Linked DNA regions of Homo sapiens: region 1 is linked to region 2. The links are contacts of gene promoters, found by promoter capture Hi-C in blood cells and fetal thymus (Javierre and others, 2016). All regions are on one chromosome and are shown on one strand. Each heading gives the region's core, a stretch centred on a gene start or on the middle of the fragment in contact. The rest is flanking DNA. Distances are from core to core; before and after follow the strand shown. Region 1 holds the start of GLYR1 (glyoxylate reductase 1 homolog). Region 2 overlaps TFAP4 (transcription factor AP-4).

Evidence for each region. Contacts are between HindIII fragments. The CHiCAGO score rates a contact against its expected background, and 5 or more counts as called.
Region 1: a contact is called between the fragment with the promoter of GLYR1 here and a fragment that was not itself captured in region 2, in 5 of 17 cell types (total CD8 T cells, naive CD8 T cells, fetal thymus and 2 more). The highest score is 8.6, in total CD8 T cells.

What each region holds. Positions count from the first base shown.
Region 1 is chr16:4,845,924-4,851,717 of GRCh38, reverse strand. GLYR1 (glyoxylate reductase 1 homolog) reads left to right here and starts at 4,430. Exons shown (of 16, transcript NM_032569.4): 1 at 4,430-4,490; 2 at 5,508-5,544. The coding sequence starts at 4,453. It overlaps UBN1 (ubinuclein 1), which reads right to left and starts at 4,237. Exons shown (of 18, transcript NM_001079514.3): 1 at 3,508-4,237. RefSeq lists silencers at 3,557-3,646, 3,657-4,376 and enhancers at 3,429-4,271, 4,567-4,626, 4,927-4,986. The HindIII fragment of the contact is 6,120 bases long and covers 1-5,387 here.
Region 2 is chr16:4,257,262-4,263,345 of GRCh38, reverse strand. It overlaps TFAP4 (transcription factor AP-4), which reads left to right. Exons shown (of 7, transcript NM_003223.3): 2 at 645-810; 3 at 924-1,022; 4 at 1,397-1,567; 5 at 2,751-2,891; 6 at 3,101-3,256; 7 at 5,097-6,084. The coding sequence ends at 5,291. Among named protein-coding and RNA genes, the nearest start is that of LINC01569, 6.5 kb to the right of the region's middle. The HindIII fragment of the contact is 217 bases long and covers 3,676-3,892 here.

The DNA of each region.
Region 1 (5,794 bases), core at 3,181-5,680, 590 kb before region 2:
CTCTCGAGGAGCTGAGACTACAGGTATATCCCACCATGCCTGGCTAATTTTTTCTATTTTTTGTAGAGATGCTGACCCACTATGTTGCCCAGGCTGGTCTTAAGCTCACAACCTCAAGCGACCCTCCTTCCAAGGAAATTATAACTTTGTATGCAGTTAAAACTAGGCTCTTTTCCTTTGAGACTCCTCCCATTTCTTTTATGCCTAGAATGTTCGTCTCCAACCAGATCTTATAGAAGAACTTGTGTATATAGGTTTTTTGTTTTTTGAGACAAGGTCTCACTCTGTTGCCCAGGCTGGAATAAAGTGACTCAATCTCAGCTCACTGAGGCCTCAACCTCCCAAGCTAAAGCGATCCTCCTACCTCAGCCTCCCTAGTAGTTGGAACTACAGGCGTGCTAATTTTTGTATTTTTTGTAGGGACGTTGTTTTGCCATGTTGCCCAGACTGGTTTTGAACTCCTGCTGGGATTACAGGTGTGAGCCACTGAGCCCAGCCTATATGGTCATTTATAGATATTTTTTCACATTTACTTCATTAACCCCAGATGAATTTGCTATGCTATAAAGTATGAGGAGAGGCTGTAACTTGGTTTCTTCCAGCATCAATCACTAAACAATCCTTCCTTCCTCTGCTGATTTGGCATATATTGCAAAGCAACATCACAGATATCTAAGGCCTGTTTCTGAAGTCCATGTGTCATATTAATACGGTATTTAGAGATTCTTTAATCAGTATTGCACTGTTTTGTAAAGTTTCATACTTTAATGTTGCAAAGTTAAAGCTCATGTTTATTATCCTTCTTTATAAATAATACTTTGCCATTCCAGCCTATGTATTATTTTGGCAGGTTTCAAAAAAACTCACTGTATTTTGGTTGTAAATCAATCACAAATGTGAGTTAATTCAGGAAAATTAGCATATATCGTATATATCCACATACATGTAGACGTATTTGTATATATCCAATATTCATTTGTCGAATTATGATCACAAAATCAACTTATAACATCACATAAGGGAACAAAATATCTACAAATGAAGAGTTAAAATAATTCTAATCAGGCGGCAAAACGATTAGCAGTGTAACAGGCTGGCGCTGCAAAAGACCATCTCCCAACACGTACTAAGATGTTAAAGGAGATTTCCCTAAAAGAAATCTCCAAGGCCCTCAGGATATTTGTGATGCGCTGGGTTGTGGAAATAAATCCCAGCTGAAGGCTTACAGATTCCCCCACTGATAGAACCGGAACAGTCTCACTATAAGAAGGGAATCAGCAAGTTAACCAATGGGATGCAGGAAGGTCATCCTTGAATTGGCAACCAGGTCCTACTCCCCCTGTCCAGGCAGTAAACACATAACCTTATCTCAGTCCAAGTCTGAGAGACTGCAGCTTCAATCCTAGATGGCAAAACTGCTCCTTTCAGTTGCTTAAGTGACTCTCCAGGCCCAAGAAGGTAAAAAATAGGACTACAGGATAAAGTGAGTCAAATCTGTACTCTATTACCACTTAGATTTGGGGTTGTTTTATAATCATTATAATGTTCTGCTGTTACTAAGCCATTTGAAACATTTAAGAGAATCCAATATATTTAACAATGGTACGTTAGACTTACAATCATAATTCAAAATGCTTAAGAAAATATAATTAAGTTCAAACATGTTTGAATGCTTAAAAAAAACTTACATTTATCTATTAGACTTACGAGAGTTGCCTAAGTCCTTGGAAAGATTTTAGCTTTTTTTGTGGTTTTTTTTTTTTTTTTTGTGAGACAGTTGCCTCACTCCTGTTGCCCAGGCTGGAGTGCAGTGGCACCATGAGAGCTCACTGCAGCCTCAACTTCCCGGACCCAGCACTTTGGGAGGCTAAGGCAGGATGATCGCTGGAGCCTAGGAGTTTAAGACCAGCCTGGACAACATGATGAGACTTCATCTGCACAAAAAAATTTTTTTTAAATTAGCCAGGTATGGTGGCACACCCCTGTAGTCTTGGCTACTAAGGAGGCTGAGGTGGGAGGATGGCTTTAGACTGGGAAGGTCCAGGCTGCAGTGAGCCGTGATCCTGCCACTGCACTCCAGCCTGGGCGACAAGAGTGAAACTCCGTCTCAAACAAAAAAAAGAAAAAAACAAAGATCCCCCTTTAAAAACCTCAGTTGGTGTTACTGAGAAAATACTAGCCTTCCTTGTCCCTTGGTTATCCTCAGCAATTTTTAATTTTTTCTTACTATATATATATATATCTCCTTCTAAACATTGTATTTTCAAACTGGTTATTGATGAAACAGAAAAACTAAATTGTGCATTCCAACTTATAATGAGTACCCTTCCTGAATTCTTATTTTAATGGGTTTTTTGGTTTTTGTTTTTGTTTTCAAAATAGGCAGACCTATCATCCACGGAAATGAGAATTCTGTCTTCCCTTTTCCAAAAATTGCATTTCTTATTTTTGTTTCCTGTCTTACTGCACTGGCTAGAACTTTCAGGTTTTAGGCAATATATTCTTATTATCTAATAGTGGTAGAAATGTACCATGTTTCTGATGTTAAGGGGAATGCCTCTAGGTTTTGGTGCAATGTTCATTTGAGATTTTTTTTTCTTTTTTCTTTTTGGCGGGGGGACGAGTCTCGCTCGCTCTGTCGCCTAGCTGGAGTGCAGTGACATAATCTCGGCTCACGGCAACCTCCGCTTCCCGGGTTAAGCGATTCTCCTGCCTCAGCCTCCCAAGTAGCTGGGACTACAGGCATGCGCCACCACGCCCGGCTAATTTTGTATTTTTAGTAGAGTACTGGGTTTGACCGTGTTGGCCAGGCTGGTCTCGAACTCCTGATCTCAGGTGGTCCACCCGCCTCGGCATCCCAAAATGCTGGGATTACAGGCTTATACCACCCTGCCCGGCCAAGATTCATGTTTTTATTTAAGTTATTAAAATCTCATTCAATTCCTCACAAATTCAGAATTTTTAAACAGGAACTTATGTTAAATTTTTATCAAATTATTCCCTGGAATCTTAAATACGCTTTAAAGATCACTTTGTCTTAAAAATACACACGCAGTAAATGACAGTCCGTGCAGCTAATTCTTGGTACTTCAGGGAAACTGATCTCCCAAGAAAAATCAGGCTGCGGGACGACCCAGTACGCTAAACACCGACTTGCAACCGAAATCTCTAACCACCACAATGCCTTGGGGAAATGCGTGTCGACTCGCCACCTTTGCCAGCTGGCAGTGACTCAACAAGAGCCCGACACCAAGTCTAAGTCAATCCTTAACACTGTGGAGTCTGTGATCGGGACTGGGATCTTTTGCAAAATTGTGATTCTACCTGGTCTGCTGAAGTTTGGGCCGACGCTGCGCTCAACTGCAGTTAACACTTCCCAGTTCATGGTTCAGTTTTAAAGTGTCCAAACTACGCCCGGCATCTGTCTTCCTGTTGTCACAACTTTTTCAAAAGTGCAAAACTAGGGCAAGGCTAACGAGAGAGCCCGGACCCGACAACGACACGCACCTTTGTCCCCAGCGCCGACGCGGGCCGCAGACGTCCCCCCGCGGCGGTCCTCATGCCGGTCCCCGGGCGGCGGCGCAGCTAGCGGTCGGCTGCTAAGCCGTGGCTCCCAGCGGGCGGGCGGCCCGCGCCTCGGCCCATGGCCGGGTCCCCGAGCCCAGGGGAGCCTGGTGTGCCGCGCCGCGCGCCGGCCCAGGAGGAAGCGAAGAAATGCCAACTCGACGTCCGCGCAGCCACTCCGGGGACACCAGGGGGTCGGGGGAGCAGCCTCCGGTCGCCCCAGGAGAACTTGCGGCGCGGGACCCCGCGCTCAGACGGCGCCTCCGAAAGCGGCCGTCGGGAGGAGCGCTCCAAAGAACACGGGCGGCGGGAGCGGACGGGCGCGGACACCGGGGCCTCCCGGCCTGCGGCCAAGCAGAGTTGCCGGGCGCGGGAGCCCAGACCCGGCGGAGGCTGAGTTCCAGGCCGCGCCGAGCTCCGTCAGGGTAGCTCACTGGCGCTGCGACGGGGCCGACCAGCGCCTCGGGCTCGGGAATGGCCCCGGGGCCCGCGCCGGACCAACGGGCGTAACGGAAGCGCCGAGAGGGGAGGGGCGCGGAGTCCAAGACCCGGGGGCGGGGCGAGCCGCGAGGCCGGCTCCCTCTCGCGCTCAGCCGGTCGCACCGTCGCCGCCGCCGCCGCCTCAGACCGCGGGCGCTTCGTTGTCACGAGCCGAAGGGAGGGGGAAGGAGCCGGGAGTCTCTGCGCTCCGGCGCGCGGAGACCGCGGCGCTCGCGTCACGTGCCCCTCGGTCGACCAATGATCCCCGGCGGGCGCGGTGACGTCAGAGTAGCGGCGTGGCCAGTGACAGCCGGCCCCCGTCACGTGGTCGGGCCCACTCCAATGGGCGGCGCCGGGGCGACTTGCTGTTCCCGGCGGCCCGTGCGTCGGCGGTGGTTGGGTGGTAAGATGGCGGCTGTGAGTCTGCGGCTCGGCGACTTGGTGTGGTGAGTCCGAGCGGCCGGGCCAACCGAGACGCGCCGGGGAGCTACCCGCCTGGGCGCGGGGTTCGCTGCCGGCCCTGGAGCTGCCTTTTTATGCGCTCCAGGTCGCGGAGAGAGGGGAAGAGAAGGTGCCGGCGCTTGCGAGCGGCGCCAGGCGGAAGGGGCAGTCCAGTCCCGGGGGACCGAGGCCGAGGGTGGCCACGTCGGGCACCGGCTTTGATCCCCGAGGCCGGCCGGGTGGGGTCTGCACTCGGGGCCCAGATACTGGCGGCCCCCGTGAAGGGAGCCGCCGGTGCCGCGAGGCTTCCCCGGACGACCGGTCCCCGGGGTCTTGTTGGGGCTTCCCAGAAAGCAGAAGCGCCGGGGACCGGACCTGCGAGATCTGGCCGGTGCCATTCGGTCAAAGCCCAGGTTGCGATGCAGCCGACCTGTGCGGCCGGCTCAGCCGGGGTTGTCTAAACCGGACTGCTGGCGTTGCCCCGCGAAGAAACGGCGGGGGGACTTCTCCTTTACAACCGATGGCTTGGCAGTGACCAGTGCACGCTTGGGTGCCTCCCGCGGTCTGCTTCTGTGTCCCAGACAACCGCCCGAACCAAGACTTTGTCGCCGCCTCCCTCGAGCTGCGTAGCTTGTTTCTCCACCCAGAGGAAGGCTTCCATTAGCATTTGTCAAAGCCAGGCAGGTCTCCTGTTGAATTAAACCAGACTTAGGGAGGGAAAGTCTGTGTTTACAGAGGAAGCTGTCCTCCCACCCCCGTCATTAAGAAGCTCTAGACAAGTGACTTTTGACAGTTGTGTTGTTCTGTATTCCTTGTCAACAGAAGAATGGATATGCGTTGTGCACATAAGTATACAATTTTGCATTTTACTTCTGAGGGTGTTGGGCCCAGCTATGAAAGCTTTTGTTTCGGCATTTGAGGATGCCAGCAGAGATTTAGGAAAATAAATTGCGTATTGAGTGGGTTGAAGGAGATGGACTGGCTTTTGCAGGGCAAGTGTTGACTCTTTGTGTTTTCTCTAGGGGGAAACTCGGCCGATATCCTCCTTGGCCAGGAAAGGTGAGTGTCTTGCTACTAAAGGAAGAGATCTGAAGTTGGGTTTGAAGAGGTGGAGAATGTAAGATGCATTCCTCTCAGTTTCTAGTATTGAGTTAAATTGGGCTCATTCAGATGGCACTTAGAATTTTTTTTCCCCTAGTATCGGTTATTTTTTAAAAGGCAATGCAGTATACACCAGATCATTAAATCTTCTCTAAACCCTTATTTCTGGATTTAGAGGAGGTTTATGAAGTTTCTTTTTTAACCCCGG
Region 2 (6,084 bases), core at 2,535-5,034:
TTCTGGGCCCCACCGGGCCTGCTAGTCAGACGCTGGGGCCAGCACCCGTCGTCTGCATAGTTTCTAAGCTCTTGGATGTTTTGATGCTCAGACACACTGGGAATTCTGTTCCGGAGGAGAGACTGCTCCCTGTGAGGAAAGCCAGGGAGGGGATGGGTTTTTGTTGTTGTTGTTGAGACAAGGTCTTGCTCTGTTGCCCAGACTGAAGTGCAGTGGCGTGATCATAGCTCACTGCAGCCTCCAACTCCTGGGCTCAAGCGATCCTCCCACTTCAGCCTCCTGAGTAGCTGGGACTACAGGCATGCACCACCACACCTGGCTAATTTTATTTTTTTGTAGAGACAGGGTCTCACTACGTTGCCTAGGCTGATCTCAAACTCTTAGGCTCAATGATCCTTGGCCTTGACCTCCCAAAGAACTGGGATTACTGTGCCTGGCCCGGGGTGGGTTCTGAGCGGACTATCTTACCCGCAGCCAGCTGATTCAGTCCGCCCCGGTGTCCCAGAGAGCACCCCTCCATCACTCTCTGGGGGTGGCCTGGCATCTTTTGCAGCAGGGGAGGGATGCAGTTTCCACTGGGGCCCTCTGGAGATGAATGATGAAGAGGGCGCCTTGGCCGAGCCTGTCCCTGTCCTCTCTGGCAGCCTTGCCAACATTCCACTAACCCCCGAGACTCAGCGGGACCAGGAGCGGCGGATTCGGCGGGAGATCGCCAACAGCAACGAGCGGAGACGCATGCAGAGCATCAACGCGGGATTCCAGTCCCTCAAGACCCTCATCCCCCACACAGACGGAGAGAAGCTCAGCAAGGTGGGTGAGAGCAGGGAGGGCTTCCTGGAGGAGCCGGCAGGTTCCCGCTGGGAGAGGAAAGTGAGCTCTGGTAAACACTGCCAGCCTGACTCTCGGCTTTTCCACGCCCTCAGGCAGCCATTCTCCAGCAGACAGCCGAGTACATCTTCTCCCTGGAGCAGGAGAAGACCAGGCTCTTGCAGCAGAACACACAGCTCAAGCGCTTCATCCAGGTGCGCCCTGTCCTTCATGGCTCCCTCTCCCTGGCATGGGCATGCCTTGGACCCAGCCATGGGCCTGGGACTCAGGTGTGGCTGCAGGCCCCTTCTTGCCCACTGACAAGTACTTCCAGGCACTTTTTTTCCTGCCCCGGCCTCAGTTTCCCCATCGGTCAAGTGCGGTGGAGTGGGCTCTGGAAGGAGCCAGGTGACTGTTATGTAAAGCAGCCCATTCTCCTGGCATTTGGCTGGTTTGTTGGACTTGCAGAAGGGGCTCCCTAATGAAGATTCACCTGTGTTGGGCAGCTTTGGGGGGCTGCGATGGAACCCCAATCTCCGTGGTGGTACCGAGGTGTCAGGCACACTGACCGACTCCTTGGGGTCCCCAGGAGCTGAGCGGCTCGTCCCCCAAGCGACGGCGGGCAGAGGACAAGGACGAAGGCATAGGCTCCCCGGACATCTGGGAGGACGAGAAGGCGGAGGACCTGCGGCGGGAGATGATTGAGCTGCGGCAGCAGCTGGACAAGGAGCGCTCGGTGCGCATGATGCTGGAGGAGCAGGTGAGGCAGCGCCCTCTGCTGGGCACGGCGCGCGGTGCAGAGGGCGTGGAGCCTGGGGTCGCGCCTCTTGCTCTGCGGCCCTCGGTGGAGCCCTATTTACAGGAGCACCTACTGCGGTGCCAGGCCTAGGAGTGGGGAGCAAGCCAGACACGTCTCTGCCCTTGGGGGCCACCGTCTGCGTTGGGGTGGGGGAGATTAGCCAAAGGATCTCAAAAATGTAACCATGCTGTGGGAGGCCGAGGCGGGTGGATCACCTGAGGTCAGCAGATCGATACCATCCTGGCTAACACGGTGAAACCCCGTCTCTACTAAAAATACAAAAAAAAAAAAAATTAGCCGGGCGTGGTGGTGGGTGCCTGTAGTCCCCGCTGTTTGGGAGGCTGAGGCAGGAGAATGGCGTGAACCTGGGAGGCAGAGCTTGCAGTGAGCCGAGATCGTGCCACTGCACTCCAGTCTGGGAGACAGAGCGAGACTCCATCTCAAAAAAAAAAAAATGTAACCGTGATGGGCTGGGTATGGTGGCTCACACCTATAATCCCAGCACTTTGCGGGGCTGAGGTGGGAGGATCGCTTGAGCCCAGGAGTTTGAGATCAGCCTGGGAAGCATAGTGAGACTCTGTCTCTACCAAAAAAGATACAAAAATTAGCCAGGTGTGGTGGGGTGTGCCTGTAGTCCCGGTTACTCAGGAGGCTGAGCTGGGAGGATTGCTTGAGCCCAGGAGGTGGAGGCTGCAGTGAGCCATGATTGTGCCACTACACTGCAGCCTGAGTGACAGAAGGAGACCATGGCTCAAAAAAACCAAAAAACAAAAACAAAAAACCATATTGAAGGCCAGGCTGGAGCTGTGGCATCAGGAGGGGTTTTTCAAGGGACGCCCCACGGCATCTCCATGGAAGTGGGAAGTTGAGTCTCATAGTTAACCAAAGGACAGAGAAAGGTGTTCCCGGCAGAGGGAATAGCATAGGCAAAGACTCGGGCAGGAGGGAGCATGGTCCAGTGGAGGCCGAGGTGGGAGGCGAGAGGAGCCGGGGGCTGAAGGGCTCTGGAAAGGCTTCTGGCCTCTGTTGAGAGGGGCCCGCCCTGTGCTAGGGTTTTCAGCAGGAGTGAATGAGCTGCTGTGAGACTGACAGGGCAGGGTGTGCTCCCGGCCTTGGCCCTGAGCCCAGGTTGTCCTGCCTCCAGGTGCGCTCGCTGGAGGCCCACATGTACCCGGAAAAGCTCAAGGTGATTGCGCAGCAGGTGCAGCTGCAGCAGCAGCAGGAACAGGTGAGGCTGCTGCACCAGGAGAAGCTGGAGCGGGAACAGCAGCAGCTGCGGACCCAGGTGAGCAGGAGGCGCCCGGGAGTGGGCTCTGGGGACCGGGAAGGGGACAGGTGATCTTGAATGGCGGAAGCCTCTCCCTAGGCCACGTCCTCTCTGCTTCTTAATATAAAGGGGCAGAGGCAGTTATACATTGGCCAGCTCTGCATGAAAGGGAGGTGGATGGGCCAAGAGAAGCCTTGAGAGAAAGGCTGAGGGCCTCTGTCTTGCAGCTTCTGCCCCCTCCGGCCCCCACCCACCACCCCACGGTGATCGTGCCAGCACCGCCTCCTCCTCCCTCCCACCACATCAATGTCGTCACCATGGGCCCCTCCTCGGTCATCAACTCTGTTTCCACATCCCGGCAAAATCTGGACACCATCGTGCAGGTACCTGAGCTTGAGAAAGGGGCAGCTTGTGGGGGTCATACTCCGGGAACAGGCTCTTTAGGGGAGACTGGAAAAGAGGGGCAGAAGCGGAGGAAGATGGTGCTTGTGTGGGAAGGGGTGGAGGGCTGGAAGCCTTGGGGGGCCCCGTCCCTGGATCTGCAAGTGGAGAATGTGAGGGCCAGAGATCGGGGCAGGGCCTACCACGCCAGTAGGAGGAGTTGGCCAGGAAGACTGTCCCTTCCCTCAATATGGGGTTTCCGGAGAGGGTCCTTTGCTCCCAGAGCCCCCTGGTTACAGAGTTCCTGCATCCAGCTCTTGGGTTGGTCCGGAACATTGTCTCAGCTCCATCTCCTAGGACCTGGATGGAGATACAGGTGGCAGGGCTGGTGATAGTTGGGCCTCCTACAGAGGAGGAAGCTTTGTGGGTCAAGCCTGAAGTTACAGTTGCATTCACCCTTGAACAGGGCCCCTTGAGGAGCCCAAGATCAGAAATCAGTAAATAATAAATAAATAACCAAAAAAGCCAAAACAGGAAAAAAAATCCATCAATCTCCTCGAATTTTAATTGCTCATAAACTTTGCAAATTGTGTAATACAATTAATAACAAACGCCTTTAATAAGTTAATAGGCAAGCTTTAAAATACATAAACATATGGCCGGGTGTGGTGGCTCACACCTGCAATCCCAGCACTTTGGGAGGCCAAAGTGGGTGGATCACTTGAGGTCAGGAGTTCGAGACCAGCCTGGCCAACATGGTGAAAACCCCATCTCTATTAAAAATACAAAAATTAGCCTGACGTGGTGGTGCACGCCTGTAATCCCAGCTATTCGGGAGGCTGAGGCAGGAGAATCGCTTGAACATGGGAGGTGGAAGTTGCAGTGAGCTGAGATTGCACCACTGAACTCCAGCCTGGGTGACACGGTGAGACTCTTTCTCAAAAAACAAACAAACAAAAACATATGAAAGGTCCATATTATTTCTTTTTTTTTCTTTTTTTTTGAGATAGAGTTTCGCTCTTATTGCCCAGGCTGGAGTGCAATGGTGCTATCTCAGCTCATCGCAACCTCCTCCTCCCAGGTTCAAGTGATTCTCCTGCCTCAGCCTCCCAAGTAGCTGGGATTATAGGCATGTGCCACCACGCCTGGCAAATTTTGTATTTTTAGTAGGCTTCTGGCCTCTGTTGAGGGGCTGGTCTCGAACTCCTGACGTCAGGTGATCCTCCCGTCTTGGCCTCCCAAAGTGTTGGGATTACAGGCGTGAGCCACTGCGCCTGGCTGATACATATAATATAATTTCTAAGCAGCACTGGGACTGTCATCTTCCCAGAATGGATTTTTCAACTTAACAGAGGGGTTTTGAAAGTTTGTTCCTGGGTCAGGCGTGGTGGCTTATGCCTGTAATCCCGGGACTTTTGGAGGTTGAGGCAGGAAGATTGCCTGAGGTCAGGAGTTCGAGATCAGCTTGGGCAACATAGCAAGAACCCCCTCGTCTCTACCAAAAATACAGAAGTTAGCTGGGGATGGTGGCGCACCCCTGTGGTTCCAGCTACTAGGGAGGGAGCAGTAGGAGGATCGCTGGAGCCCAGGAGTCTGACTGCAGTAAGCTATGATCATGCCACTGCACTCTAGCCTGGGTGATATAGCGAGAGCTTGTCTCCAAAAAAAAAGTAAAAGGAGTTTGTTTTTCCTGTACTCTAGCGGGCCTCCCCTGCTGCTTTGCCAGGCTTTTTTCTGGGCTATGTGTTTTGGGGGTGACAGTGGCTGGCTGAGAGCCCCCACTGTCTCCTGGCTGGCCATGTATCCCCGGCCGAGCCTTCTCAGTGGTTCGTCCCTGTCCAGGCAATCCAGCACATCGAGGGCACCCAGGAAAAGCAGGAGCTGGAGGAGGAGCAGCGGCGAGCTGTCATCGTGAAGCCTGTCCGCAGCTGCCCGGAGGCCCCCACCTCTGACACCGCCTCCGACTCCGAGGCCTCAGACAGTGACGCCATGGACCAGAGCCGGGAGGAGCCGTCGGGGGACGGGGAGCTTCCCTGACTACCCCCCCAGCCCTCCTCTCCCTTCTGGGGGCTGGAGGGAGCCGGGGCAGCCACAGGGAGAGACATGGGCGAATGAGTGAGAAATTTTTACAAAATTACGATGTCATTTGGGTCTCTTTTATGACCTCTTTTTCAATACTGTAAATCGACCTTTGAACGAAGCCACTCAACCCGAGGTCCCGGGGCTGGGGTGTCGCAGAGCGTGTGGGAGCATCGGCACCCCAGGGCGGGGCCTCGGCCCCGGGGGCTGGAGGAAGCTGACACGGAGATGCCTGGCCTCTCTCTGCCAAAAAGCATTTTTTCCTTTAAATATGTTTTTTAAGAACAGGGAAAATTAAACAAAACCCCAGGTTATTTCTTCCCTGCCCAGAGCCAGCCTGGGATTGTCAGCCTTCAATCCCCTTTCCTTCCTCTTTTTGGGTTTTCTTCTTTCTCCTTTAAGCACTTACATGGTTGGGGGTAAGACTAGGCTGGGGCATTCTGGGGGCCCGGAGGTCTCCGTTGCTTCTTGGTTGGGGTTTGCTGCTGCTGTGCCCCCCTCCCCCTTCCCCATCTCGGCACTAGAATTCGCCACTCTCCCACCCCCCAGCCCCCACCTCTGCCTCCAGGTCTCATCTTCCACCCCAAAAATGTCTGTCTCTCTCTTTTTGTTTTGTTTGTTGTTGGTTTTTTATTTCTTTTTGGTTTGCTTTCTGTTTTTGTTTTGTTTTTCTTTTTTTTCTTTCTTTTTTTTTTTTTTTTACAATTTTGAGGTCTTCGTGTTCAAGGAGAAGCTATTATATTTTGTTAAG